3 separate regions of the Homo sapiens genome follow, and regions 2 and 3 are each linked to region 1. Evidence: promoter capture Hi-C in 16 types of primary human blood cells and fetal thymus (Javierre and others, 2016). All regions are on one chromosome and are shown on one strand. Each heading gives the region's core, a stretch centred on a gene start or on the middle of the fragment in contact. The rest is flanking DNA. Distances are from core to core; before and after follow the strand shown.

What was found. Contacts are between HindIII fragments. The CHiCAGO score rates a contact against its expected background, and 5 or more counts as called.
Region 2: a fragment that was not itself captured here is called in contact with the fragment with the promoter of ELK1 in region 1 in 4 of 17 cell types (monocytes, naive CD4 T cells, naive CD8 T cells and 1 more); the score reaches 5.8 in monocytes.
Region 3: the fragment with the promoter of ZNF157 here is called in contact with the fragment with the promoter of ELK1 in region 1 in 10 of 17 cell types (non-activated CD4 T cells, total CD4 T cells, activated CD4 T cells and 7 more); the score reaches 15.6 in non-activated CD4 T cells.

Annotation. Positions count from the first base shown.
Region 1 is chrX:47,648,853-47,653,116 of GRCh38, reverse strand. ELK1 (ETS transcription factor ELK1) reads left to right here and starts at 2,554. Exons shown (of 7, transcript NM_001114123.3): 1 at 2,554-2,694; 2 at 3,091-3,196. UXT (ubiquitously expressed prefoldin like chaperone) reads left to right here. Exons shown (of 7, transcript NM_004182.4): 6 at 973-1,036; 7 at 1,222-1,321. The coding sequence ends at 1,275. RefSeq lists a silencer at 2,370-2,779 and a cis regulatory region at 2,111-3,091. The HindIII fragment of the contact is 5,079 bases long and covers 1-4,174 here.
Region 2 is chrX:47,153,030-47,157,293 of GRCh38, reverse strand. All of the region lies in intron 2 of RBM10 (RNA binding motif protein 10), which reads right to left. It also overlaps the pseudogene ITPK1P1. Among named protein-coding and RNA genes, the nearest start is that of RBM10, 9.9 kb to the right of the region's middle. The HindIII fragment of the contact is 7,763 bases long and covers 1-4,264 here.
Region 3 is chrX:47,368,738-47,373,001 of GRCh38, reverse strand. ZNF157 (zinc finger protein 157) reads right to left here and starts at 2,424. Exons shown (of 4, transcript NM_003446.4): 1 at 2,262-2,424. The coding sequence starts at 2,333. The HindIII fragment of the contact is 3,930 bases long and covers 1-2,874 here.

The DNA.
Region 1 (4,264 bases), core at 1,305-3,804:
AGGCCACTTTCCCTCCCCACTCAATTTCTAACACTCTGACCTCACTGCTTCTCAAACAGCTCTTTGTTGCCTCTTGTCCTTTTTGTGGAAAAGGCCTTCCTACTGCTTAACCATTAGGCATTCTTCGATTCCTTCTCATTCTTCATTCTTGAGAAAGGCCTTCCTTGACCCTTTATATCAATTAGGATTCTTTTGGGCGAGATCTGATCCAAACTGGCTTAGAGAAAAGGAGTCAACTGACTGGTTCATGTAATTCAACCTCCTTCCTCTGCTGCAACCTTCCCTTGGCTCCCATCTCACTTAAGGTCAAAGCCAGGGTCCTTACCATGGCCTTGTAGGCTTCACACAGTTTGTCTCCCTCATTACCTCTCTGACCTCACCTCTTACATTCCCCCTTCACTTATTCTTCTCCAGCCAGAGTGGCCTCTTTGCTGCACCTCAAACATGCCAGGCACACTCCCACCTCAGTGCCTTTGTGTTTGCTGCCCCTTGTGTGTGGAACACATCCTCCATATAGCCACACTACTCAAAATTCACTGTCTTTAAGTCTTTACTCAAATGCTTCTCCGTGAAGCCATCCCTGAGCCCTCTTTAAAATTGCAGCCCCCCACTCCTGTACTCCTTATTGTCTCTCATTTTTAATTTTTGTTATTGTAGTTAGAACCATCTGACACATAGCTTTTATTCCATTGGTTTTTTGTTATGTCTTTCTTTACAAGAATTTGAAGTCCATCAGGCCGGGAGTTTTGTTTGTTGTGTTTGCTGCTATCTCCCAGTGCCTAAAATTGCCTGGCATACAGTAGGCATTTAATAATCTTTGAATCAGTGAAAACCAGATGGTGGCTTGGCATTTCCACATAGGAATGAGCCAGGTGGAAATCATCCAGGATATAAGTAGATCTTGAAGTGATAAGGAAGGGTCATCATAATCATGTGGGGCCCATTTTGCCCTTTCTTGTTTCTTTTCTCTAGGCTCAGCAACAGCCTCACCAAGGACTCCATGAATATCAAAGCCCATATCCACATGTTGCTAGAGGTGAGAGCAGCTCACCCCACTACCAGACTCTGTGTTTAGGGTGGTGACCTGAAGAAGGAAGAGAGCGAAAGAAGGGAAGGACCATCTTTCCCTCTAAACTGGAGTCAAGGGAGGGAGGTCAGAGCAAGCCTGGGGGCGTAACCCAGACCCAGTCTTTGTTCAATCTCTTCTGTCCTCTTTTTCAGGGGCTTAGAGAACTACAAGGCCTGCAGAATTTCCCAGAGAAGCCTCACCATTGACTTCTTCCCCCCATCCTCAGACATTAAAGAGCCTGAATGCCTTTGAGTCACATGGCCCTTCTTTTTCCCCATAAACCCTGCTAGTTGCCACGGGGGCCTGTTCCTAGGGCACAAAGTTACTGAGAGACCCAGAGATCCAGTCTCTCTGTGGAACCTCCAAAATGCCCCAGCAGTCCTGCCTCCAGCCTGTTGCCTGGCAGTATTTGCCAGTTGACCTTATGCACTGCCCTCTCTTCTGTCATCTTGGCAACCTGGGCCCCCCACCTCACCCTTTCTTCCATTCCTTTTCCTAGACGCCACCCTTTGAATTGCCATAGAGAATGGGCCAATTCATGGTGGAGGTTTGTTCATTCCCACAACAATCAAAGGGCCCTAAGGTTTACGCTTTCACACACCCAATCATTCCCCAGGTACCCCAAATTACACCCAAACCCTAACTCAGCCCTACCTTGTCTTAGCCCCTGCTTGTAAGTGTTCCAGCTTCCAATGGGCACAGACCTGGATCCCGCTCTCCCTAGTCGGGCCCCTATTCTAGGTTGAGTCCAGCCACCGCCAATCAATGCAGAGCCAGGTTCCTCCCCTTTTTAACTCTGGCCGCAGTTCAACCCTGCCCTCTGAAAGCATTTCGTTTCTGCCACTCAATGCTCTTTCGTGTGCCTGACAGCCATCCTGCCCTCCTACCTCCGCTGTGTTCTAAATTCGTCTTTACCCAGCTCTATGGTCTTGTCTAACCGTAGAGCTGCCCTGCCCGCCTACGCGGAGCCCAGTCCGACCCACTCCCGCCGGCTGCTACGCCCATTTCTATACAAGCCCTGCTTCCGCTGAGCAGCATGGCGTGCGACACCGCCCCCTTGGTGTTTTGGCAGGGGTCTAGAAGTCCCTCGTCCGCCAATCAGAGAAAAACAGGGCCACCCACCCCCGTCCTTGGGGGCTGTCTTCCATCAATCCCATGTAAGCCAATCAGTGTGAGGCAGACCCCCGCCCCCCCGACACAGGCCCCGAGCCTTTTCAGTTGCTCACAGTCCGTCAGTCCTTGAGCCAATCGGCGTGGAGCACCGTGAAGGCCGAACGCGCCTCCTCGGGACTCCAGGGGCCGTGAGCGTTCCATCATTTCCCCTTACGCCAATCACGGCACAGCTCTGTAGGGAAGGGCCCGTCCCCCAACCCCTCGAGGCCTTGCGGCCGATTAATAGCGCTTTGGCCAATCAGCGAGCGGCGGGACATTGGGCTCCTCCTCCTCGGGCCCACGTGAGCTGTAGGGAAACGCAGGGGCGGCTTCTAGGTGCTGCCGCCGCCACCGCCACCACCACCTCCACCGCCGCCTCGGAACCCAGGCCTGGGGGGCGGTGGGGCCGCGTATGGAGCCCCCGCCCCCCGGAGCTGCCAACATTGCCAACGCCACCGCCACGCTACACACAGGTGAGCTCTGGGCCTGGAGGGTGGAGGGCCCAGTCCGTGACCCCACGTATCCTTCCCGCCCCCGCGCAGAGGATGTGGCTTGGCCGGTGGCCTGCTGGTGTTCGACTCCCCGCCGCCACCACCACGGCTGGTGGACCTGCGTGTGGCATTGCTCAAGCCCTTCGTCCCTTATAGTGGATCTGACCGTGGCCTAACCTCCCCCTCCCGTTGTATAATGGATCGGTCTGCGTGCTTATGTTTTTCCCCACGCCAACTTAGGGTGGACTCGTCCATAGGCTTTCCCCCTACCCCTACCCCCACCCGCCCCCCACCCACCCCCACTTATAGGGAGCTAGCCTGTGACAGTGTTCAGCCCCCTTAATAGTAGGTGTATCTGAGTGTTTGGATTTCTCCTAGCCTCAACTTTCAGGAGACCCGTCCGTGGCCTTATTTATTCCACCCTTCCTGTACATCGTAGCGAATCAATCCGTGGCGCCGCACTCCTCCGCATCCCTCTTTAACAGTGAGTCTACCTGAGTTTGTATTCCTGCCTCCTCCAGTCCCCCAATGCATCAGTCCATGGCTTTTTTCAAAACCACCCCCCCCCCCCACCACCACCACCACCATTTTATAGTGGATCAGTCTTCATGTTTGGATTCACGTCCCTTTAGCTATCAGTCCATTGCCCTGTCTCCTCTTTTTCGTAGACTGTCGCTCTAGCGCTTGGGGTTCTCTCCTTTTTAATAGTGGGTTAGTTTAGTGCTTTACATCTCCCTATTTTCAGTAGCTCAGTCCATAGCCTTTTCCCTCTCTGCTTTGAATCAGTCTGTGTGATGGCTTTTCTCTCCTCTCACTGTGGTGCAGGAGTCTGTAAGGTTTTCTGCTCCCCTTCCCCTCAGACGATGAGCCTCATCACCCCTCCCTTTGCAGTGGATCTGTTCATTGGCCTTCCTCCCCCACACCCCTGTATGCTTGCACAGTCCCCCGCATACCCTCCCGTGAGTCCAGTGCTTTGTAATTGGGGGAAGATCGGCCGTGTACTTTCAATTTCCTTCTCTTTTTTTTTCCCTTCCCAGAAGAGAACGTGCTGATCCTCTTTTCCTTGTGATGGAGCACTGTACGGCCTTCCCTGTCCTCCACCTCTTAATAGTGGGTCAGCCTGGTCACACTCGTAACCACAAAGACGTTCTGCCTCACTACAATAAGTGAATACATTAGCGCCAGTGATGATAGTAATGCCAATAGGAGCTAGCGTTTATTGAGCACCTGCCGTATATCAGGCAGAGTGTTTCATATGAATGAGTTCCTTTAATCCTCACCACAACCCCATGAGATAGGTAGTGAGGGAATTGGGCCATAGGGAGGTTAAATTCCTTACTCAAAGGTGGCCCAGGAAGTACTCAGGACACAGGATAATTTTTGAGGCTCCCCTCTTAGATCTCATCCCACCCCACGTGAGGCCTCAGTCCTTAAAAACCAAATTAGTTCTCACCTCCAAGCTTTTGTTCTTGCTGTTCCCTCTGCCTGCAGAGCAGTCTTCATTCCTCACCTTCTCTCAGCACCCACCCACCCCCCAATCCCAGCAGCTGTG
Region 2 (4,264 bases), core at 1,185-3,684, 500 kb after region 1:
TGTTCGTGGTCAGCAAGTCCTACACCGTGGTCCAGAGGCCCTTGCTCAAGAAATTCTCCGCGGACACAATGTGACCACGAATCCATCTTCCTCAATAGCCACAGTGTGTCAAAGCCAGAGTCATCATTGGTCCTGATGGAGCTGGACAAGATCAAGGGGTCTGGTCTGTTCAAGAGCAGCCGAGCAAAGAGGTCATCCGGGAACTCCCCCGGGCCCTGCGGCAGGCACTGGGAGTATTGCTGTTCGGCACCGACATCATCATCAACAACCAGATGGGGCAGCATGCCGTCATCGACATCAACGCCTTCCCAGCCTACGAGGGTGTGAGCAGGTTCTTCACAGACCTCTGGAACCACATCGCCACCATTTTCCAAGACCAGAGCACAGCCACAGCAGCCACAGGGGATGTGGCCCCACTGAGGCACAGCAAGCTCCTGGCCAAGCCGGCGAGCAGCCTAGCAGGCAAGCAGACATGCAGCACCAGCCACAGCTGCTGCAGCAGCATGATGGGCCAGGATGCACCCTGGAAGGCCAATGCCTATGTGGGTAGTACCTCCAAGCTGCCGCACCCGAGACTCTGCTGCACCACCAGTATGTCGCCCAGCTTCTAGCAGCACAGCGTGGCCTCCCTGGCCAACAAGGCCTCCTCCCAGTACCCATGGAGCCAAGATCCAGAGGGGTGGCATGGGGAATACCCGCTGGGCTAGCAGCTCCCAATGGCGATGCTACTACTAAGAATCCCCAATGATCTGATTCTTCTTTTTCTTAACTTTAACCTGATTTTCTGATGTCATGATCTAAATGAGGGTTGGGGGAAGATGGAAGAGAACATCAAGTGGTCCAGCGTTAGGAAAAAGGGCCATCCCATCCCACATGATTCCTGCTGTGCAGACATCTTCACTGAGTTAAAAAAAAAAACTGTATGTGTATCCTTTAATCTATAATAAAAGTTGAACTTTTAAAAAAAGAAAACAAATATTAGAAAACATAAGAAAAAAATGTATCACCTTAAGAGTGGGGAAGGCCTTCCTCAGCAAGACAAATCCCAGCAGTCATAAAAGGAAAATGAATAAATCTGGCTTTGTAAAAATTATAAATCTCTATAGAGTGTAAAAAATACGAGAAACTTAGAAGTAAATATGTAATAAAGCAAGTATGGTAAAACGTTAATAGTAGAATCTAGTGGGCTGGGCACGGTGGCTCACACCTATAATCCGAGCACTTTGGGAGGCCGAGGCAGGCAGATCACCTGAGGTCGGGAGTTTGAGACCAGCCTGAGCAACATGGAGAAACGCCGTCTCTACTAAAAATACAAAATTAGCCAGGTGTGGTGGCGCGTGCCTGTAATCCTAGCTACTCGGGAGGCTGAGGCAGGAGAATCACTTGAACCCAGGAGGCAGAGGTTGCGGTGAGCTGAGATTGTGTCATTGCACTCCAGCCTAGGCAACAAGAACAAAACTCCATCTCAAAAAAAAAAAAAAGAAAGAAAGAAGAAAAAAAAAGAATCTAGTGGATGGGTATATATGGTGTTCATTGTAAAATTCTTTTTTTTTTTTTTTTTTTGAGATGGAGTCTCGCTCTGTTGCCCAGGCTGGAGTGCAGTGGCGATCTCGGCTCACTGCAAGCTCCGCCACCCGGGTTCATGACATTCTCCTGCCTCAGCCTCCCAAGTAGCTGGGACTACAGGCGCCCGCCACCACAGCCGGCTAATTTTTTTGTATTTTTAGTAGAGATGGGGTTTCACTGTGTTAGCCAGGATGGTCTTGATCTCCTGACCTCGTGATCTGCCCACCTCAGCCTCCCAAAGTGCTGGGATTACAGGCATGAGCCACCGCACCAGGCCCATTGTAAAATTCTTTAAACTTTGCTACATGCTTGAAATTTCACACTAAACTATGGAAAACACCATAAAGATAAGTAACAAATGGGGCAAATATCCATTAAACATGTTTTCAAACATTTTGGTTGACTTCCATTTTTTTAAACAATTATTTGTTCATGCATTCATTCAACAAATATTAACCTAACATTGGCTATACGATAAGTACTGTTCTAGGTAATGGGGATACTGCTGTGAACAAAATAAAGTCCCTGTCCCCACGAACTCAGCTTGGAACCCAAACTCTTTTTTTTTTTTTTTTTTTTTTGAGAGGGAGTCTCGCACTGTCCTCCGGGCTGGAGTGCAGTGGCGTGATCTTGGCTCACTGCAACTTCCACCTCCTGGGTTCAAGCGATTGTCCTTCCTCAGCCTCCCGAGTAGCTGGGATTACAGGTGCCTGCCACCACACCCAGCTAATTTTTTGTATTTTTAGTAGAGATGGGGTTTCATCATGTTGGCCAGGCTGGTCCCAAACTCCTGACCTCGTGATTCACCCGCCTCGGCCTCCCAAAGTGCTGGGATTACAGGCGTGAGCCACCACACCTGGCCCCAAATTGTTTCCCTACCGTAAATGCCTAGAGAAGAAATCACTGTCAGTGGTATGAGTAGTTATAAGGTTCTTGATACAATCAATTTGAACTGTAGTCATCAAAATTCAAGAACTGGGCCATCATGGTGGCTCACACCTGTAATCCCAGCACTTTCGGAGGCTGAAGCGAGTGGATCACCTGAGGTACGGAGTTCGAGACCAGTCTGGCAAACATGGTGAAACCCCGTCTCTACTAAAATACAAAAATTAGCCGGGTGTGGTGGCACGGGCCTGTAATCCTTGCTACTCAGGAAGCTGAGGCACAAGAATCCCCTGAGCCTGGAAAGCAGAGGTTGCGGTGAGCCAAGATCGCACCACTGAACTCCAGCCTGGAAGACAGAGTGAGACTATCTCCACAAACAAAAACAAACAAACAAACAAACAAAAAAAAAAGGAAAAAAAATCAAGAACTGAACAGATATGAATAAATTTATAAATTTTCAGATGAAATTATCCTGAACTCTCTTGACATCCAATATCCAAACCAAATAAATTCAGGTATTGAACTCTTGCTATCTAAACTCAGGAAGGGAACATATTTGGATAGAAAGGAATATTTTTAATTGGCCACCAAAGCACTCTGAACAAACACCTTCCAAAGGCATATCCCTTTTATAAAGCATTTCTAGGATGCTGGACTGAATCATCATATATGAGGATCTTCACAAAATGAGTATATTTCTAGAAAATATAAAATGCTAAAATTGGCAGAAGAGATGAAATGGTAATCAAAAACCAGCTCCAGATGCTTTTATTTTATTATTTTTTGAGACAGGGTGTCACTCTGTCACTGAGGCTGGAGTGCAGTGGCATGATCATGGCTTACCACAGTCTCAACCTCCCAGACTCAGGTAATCCTCCTGCCTCAGCCTCCTGAGTAGTTAGAACTATAGGCACCTGCCACCACGCCCAGCTAATTTTTGTATTTTTTGTAGAGACAGAGTTTCGCCATGTTGCCCAGGATCGTCTCGAATTCCTGGGTTCAAGTGATCCAACTGCCTCAGCCCACTGCGCCCAGCCTCCAGATGCTTTTAAAGGTGAGTCCTACCAAGTTTTTCGAGGTACAGATAATTCTTATACAAGTTTCTCCAATAAAGAGAGAATAACAAAGGCTGCCCAATTCATGTAATGAGGCTACCTTGATTCCAATGCCAGATAAATACTGAAAATAAAAATATTGGACTACCTCACTGATAAATACAGGTGTAGATATCCTAGATGATACAATGGCTAATAAAATCTAACAAGGTTTTAAAAATATACATAAATCACTTAAATAACATTTCTGCCAAAAACTCATGAGTAAGCATCAGAAAAATCCAAACTGAGAAACATTCTATAAAACAACTAACTTTAAAACATGCTTTCAATATAATCCATAGGTTCAGGAAAAAAAAAAATGACAAGGTCATAAAAGACAAAGATAGAATAACTGTTTCAGATTAAAGGAGACAAGGAGCTCAATGCAATACATGATCTTGGACTGGATCCTGGATTGGGGAAAACCATTATAAAGGACATTATTGAGAAGAGTGATAACATCTGAATATGGGCTTTATATAGAATAAAAGTACTATATAATTGTTTAATTTCCTGATATTGATAAGTATATTGTGGTTATGGAAGAGAACACCTTTGTTCTTAAGACGTACATGCTGCCAGACTTAAAAGGTCATGTCAGGCTGGATGTGGTGGCTCATGCCTGTAATCCCAGCACTTTGGGAGGCCGAGATGGGCGGATCACCTGAGGTCGGGAGTTTGAAACCAGCCTGATCAACATGGAAAAATCCTGTCTC
Region 3 (4,264 bases), core at 1,175-3,674, 280 kb after region 1:
TCTTGAACTCCTGACCTCAAGCGATCCTCCCACCTCGGCCTCCCAAAGTGCTGGAATTACAGGCATGAGCCACCGTGCCCCACCTGAGCTTTATTTTTTGTAGTAATGAGGTCTCACTTTGTTGCCCAGGCTGGTCTTGAATTCCTGAACTCAAGCAATTCTCCGGCCTCTCCCACCAATAAAGGATATTTTAAAGAATACAAATTCAGGCCGGGCATGGTGGCTCACACCAGTAATCCCAGCACTTTTGGAGGCCAAGGCAGGTGGATCACCTGAGGTCGGGAGTTTGAGACCAGCCTGACCAACATGGAGAAACCTCATCTCTACTAAAAATACAAAATTAGCTGGGCGTGGTGGCATATGCCTGTGATCCCAGCTACTTGGGAGGCTGAGGCAGGAGAATCACTTGAATCCAGGAGGTGGAGTTTGCAGTGAGCCAAGATCACGCCATTGCACTCCAGCCTGTGCAACAAGAGCGAAACTCCATCTCAAAAAAAAAAAAAAAAAGAATACAAATAAATCACAGCCAAATAAAGAGATACATAGGGCAAGGCATGTGGGAAGGGGCCTGGAGTCTTCATGCGCTCTCTGGGTGCACCACCCTCCAGGAACCCCCATGTGTTCGGCTACCCAGAAGCTCTCCAGACTTTATCCTTTTGGGGCTTTAGGGGGGCTTCATTATGTAGGCATGATTGATTAAATCATTTGCCCTTGTGGATCGACTTGACTCTCAGCACCCTCTCCCCTCCCAGGTGGTTGGAGGGTCCCAACCCTCTAAACCTACCTTAGTCTTTCTGGTGACCAGCCCCATTCGGAAGCTGCCTAGGGACTGCCAGGCATCAGTCAACTCATTAGCATACAAAAAGACACTTTAGTACTTTAGAGATTCCGAGGATATTAGGAGTTGTTTGCCAGGAAAGACCAATTATATATTTCACAGTATCACACCCCTACAAAAACCTTACACAAACTATTATAGGATCTTTATTCATAATATCCAACAACTAGAAACAACCAAGATGTCTTTCAACCAGTGAATGGTTATACTGTTTGGTACATCCATGCGATGGAAAAGTATCAGCAATAAAAGGAATGGGCAGGGCACGGTGGCTTACGCCTGTAATCCCAGCACTTTGGGAGGCTGAGGCAGGTGGATCACGAGGTCAGGAGTTCAAGACCAGCCTGGCCAACATGGTGAAACCCCGTCTCTACTAAAGATACAAAAAATTAGCCAGGTGTGGTGGCACGCACTTGTAATACCAGCTACTCGGGAGGCTGAGGCAGGAGAATAGCTTGAACCCGGGAAGCAGAGGTTGCAGTGAGCCAAGATCACGCCATTGCAGTCCAGCCTGGGTGACAGGGCAAGACTCTGTCTCAAAAAAAATGAATGAACTATTGATATACTGTTAGCTATTGATATCTCCACAGAATTTTGCTGAATGACGAAAGCCAGTCCCAAAAGGTACATACTGTACAATCTGATTAATATAACAGTCTCTCTTTTTTGTCCTTTTTTTCCTTTTTGTGGAGAACAGGGTCTCACTATATTGCCCAGGCAGGTCTCAAACTCCTAGGCTCAAACTATCCTCCTGCTTCTGCCTCCCTAAGAGCTGGGATTACAGGCATGAGCTGCCATGCCCGGCAAATAAAACTTTTTTTTTTTTTTGAGACAGGGTCTCACTCTGTCACCCAGGCAGAGTGCAGTGGCACGATCTTGGCTTACTGCAACCTCCGCCTCCAGGTTCAAGCGATTTTCCGGTCTCAACCTCCCGAGTAGCTGGGAGTACAGGTGCGTGCCACAACACCTGGTTAATTTTTGTATTTTTAGTACAAACAGGGTTTCACTATGTTGGCCAGGCTGGTCTCAAACTCCTGGCCGCAAGTGATCCACCCGCCTCGGCCTCCCAAAGTGCTGGGATTACAGGTGACAGGCGTGAGCCACCACGTCCAGCCACAACATTCTTGAAATGAAAAAATTATAGTATTGGAGAACAGATTGGTGGTGCCCCAGGGTTAAGAGGGGAGTGATGGAGGAAGTGAAGTGGTTGTGTCTATTTAATGACAACATGGGGGATCCTTGTGGGGATGGAAATGCTCTGCATGTCAATATCCTGGGTATTACGAGATGTTACTACTGGGGACAAAAACTAGGTAAATGGTACATTGCATTTGAATCTACAATTATCTCAAAATATAAATTTAACTAAAAATAAATAAAAAAATAAAGAACATATAGAAAAAAATAGGATCCTCCTCCTTACCTCAAAAGATCTGCCAGGTTCTCCTGGAATCAGGGCAGGGAATCTCTGGGGTGATGTCCCATTAGCTGGCATGTTCACCCTGGGCCTCAGCCCACCTTCCGTGCTGGACAGCTGTCTGTGTGTAGAGGGTCCTGCAGCCTCCAGTAAGGGGTAAGGCTCAATGGCTCCACAGAGACACCAAGAAATCCTAAAAGGACAGTATCCATATCATCAGTGTCATCCCACATTCACGCCACAATGTTCAGCATCCCCAGAGCATGAGTCAAGGTGGATTACAAAATGATCAAATTTGGGGCCAAATTAATGAGCTTGGGGTCCCTTCTTGAGTGGCTCTACCAGGTGCTTCACTCGCTACTCAGCCAGCCTACACCTCAGTTCAAGTTCAAGGCAGATCTGGGTTTAGGAGAAGTAGAACTGGGGCAGTGCTTAAGGGTGCTTAAGGCCCATGGGGTGGGCAGGTTCAAGGGGACCTGGTGGGTGACTGTGAGGGCAGGAAACCTGGAAAGCTGATAATCTAAATGAAAGGAAATCGGCTGGTCCTTTCTTCTGCCGTCTTTTGTTTTTTTCCACTCTTAGATGAAATATCCCTCTTAAATTCTTTTACTGGGAAGCTTTTAGCCTCTTCTTTCCAGAAAAAAATGGTTCAATCTTAATAATGTTATGTATTTTTTCTTTTTTTTTTTTTTTTTTTTGAGATGGAGTTTCACTCTTGTCACCCAGGCTGCAGTGGAATGGTGCGATCTCAGCTCACAGCAACCTCCGCCTCCCAGGTTCAAGGGATTCTCCTGCCTCAGCCTCCCTAGTGGCTGGGATTACAGGCGCCCGCCACCACGCCCAGCTAATGTTTGTATTTTTAGTAGAGACGGGTTTTCACTATGTTGGTCAGGCTGGTCTCGAACTCCTGACCTCAAGTGATCCTCCCGCCTTGGCCTCCCAAAGTGCTGGGATTACAGGTGTGAGCCACTGCACCAGGCCTAATGTTATGTATTACATCAACAAATTACAGAGGGAAACACTCTGCTGTTAACTTACACCAAAAAAGCATCCAACGCAATTCAGCAGCCATTACTAATATAAGCTCAAACTAAAATCATGGAAAAAGTAAATAACTTAAGTGCCACAAAAATCAATTATGAAACATAACTCTGAAACACCATGCTAAAAAGTAAAATGATGAAGCTATTGCCACAAAATTAGTACTGTCTGCTATAACCCAAAATTGTTTTGTGGGCTCTAGCTCACACAAGAGAAGATGAAATAGAGTGGGCTGGGCACAGTGGCTCATGCCTGTAATCTCAGAACTTTGGGAGGCCAAGACAGGAGGGTTGCTTGAGTCCAGGAGTTCGAAACCAGCCTTGGCAACAAAGTGAGACGCTGTCTTTACAAGAAATAAAATAATCCGAGTGTGGTGGTCCACACCTGTAGTGCCAGCTACTAAGGAAGCTGAAGCAGAAGGATAGCTTAAGAAGCCTGAGAGGTTGAGGCTGCAGTGACCTCTGATGGCGCCACTGCACTCCAGCCTGGGTGACAGAGCAAGACTTTGTCTCTAAAAGAGAAAGAAAAAGAAAGAGAGAAAGAGAGAAAGAAAGAAAGAAAGAAAGAAAGAAAGAAAGAAAGAAAGAAAGAAAGAAAGAAAGAAAGAGAGGAAGGAAGGATGGAAGGAAGGAAGGAAGGAAGGAGGGAAGAAAGGAGAAAAGAAGAGAAAAGAAATAAATAATCAGGCCAGGTGCAGTGGCTCACGGCTTTAATCCCAACACTTTGGGAGGCCAAAGCAAGAGGATCCCTTGAGCCCAGGTGTTCAAAACTAACCTGGACAACATGGCAAAACCCAGTATCCTTAAAAAACAAACAAACAAACAAAAACACACACACAGAGTTGCAGTGCATTGAGATCACTCCACTACACTCCAGCCTGGATGACAGAGTGACACTTTGTTTCTATTAAAGAAAAAAAAAAGAGGCCAGAGGAGGCGGCTCACGCCTGTAATCCCAGCACTTTGGTA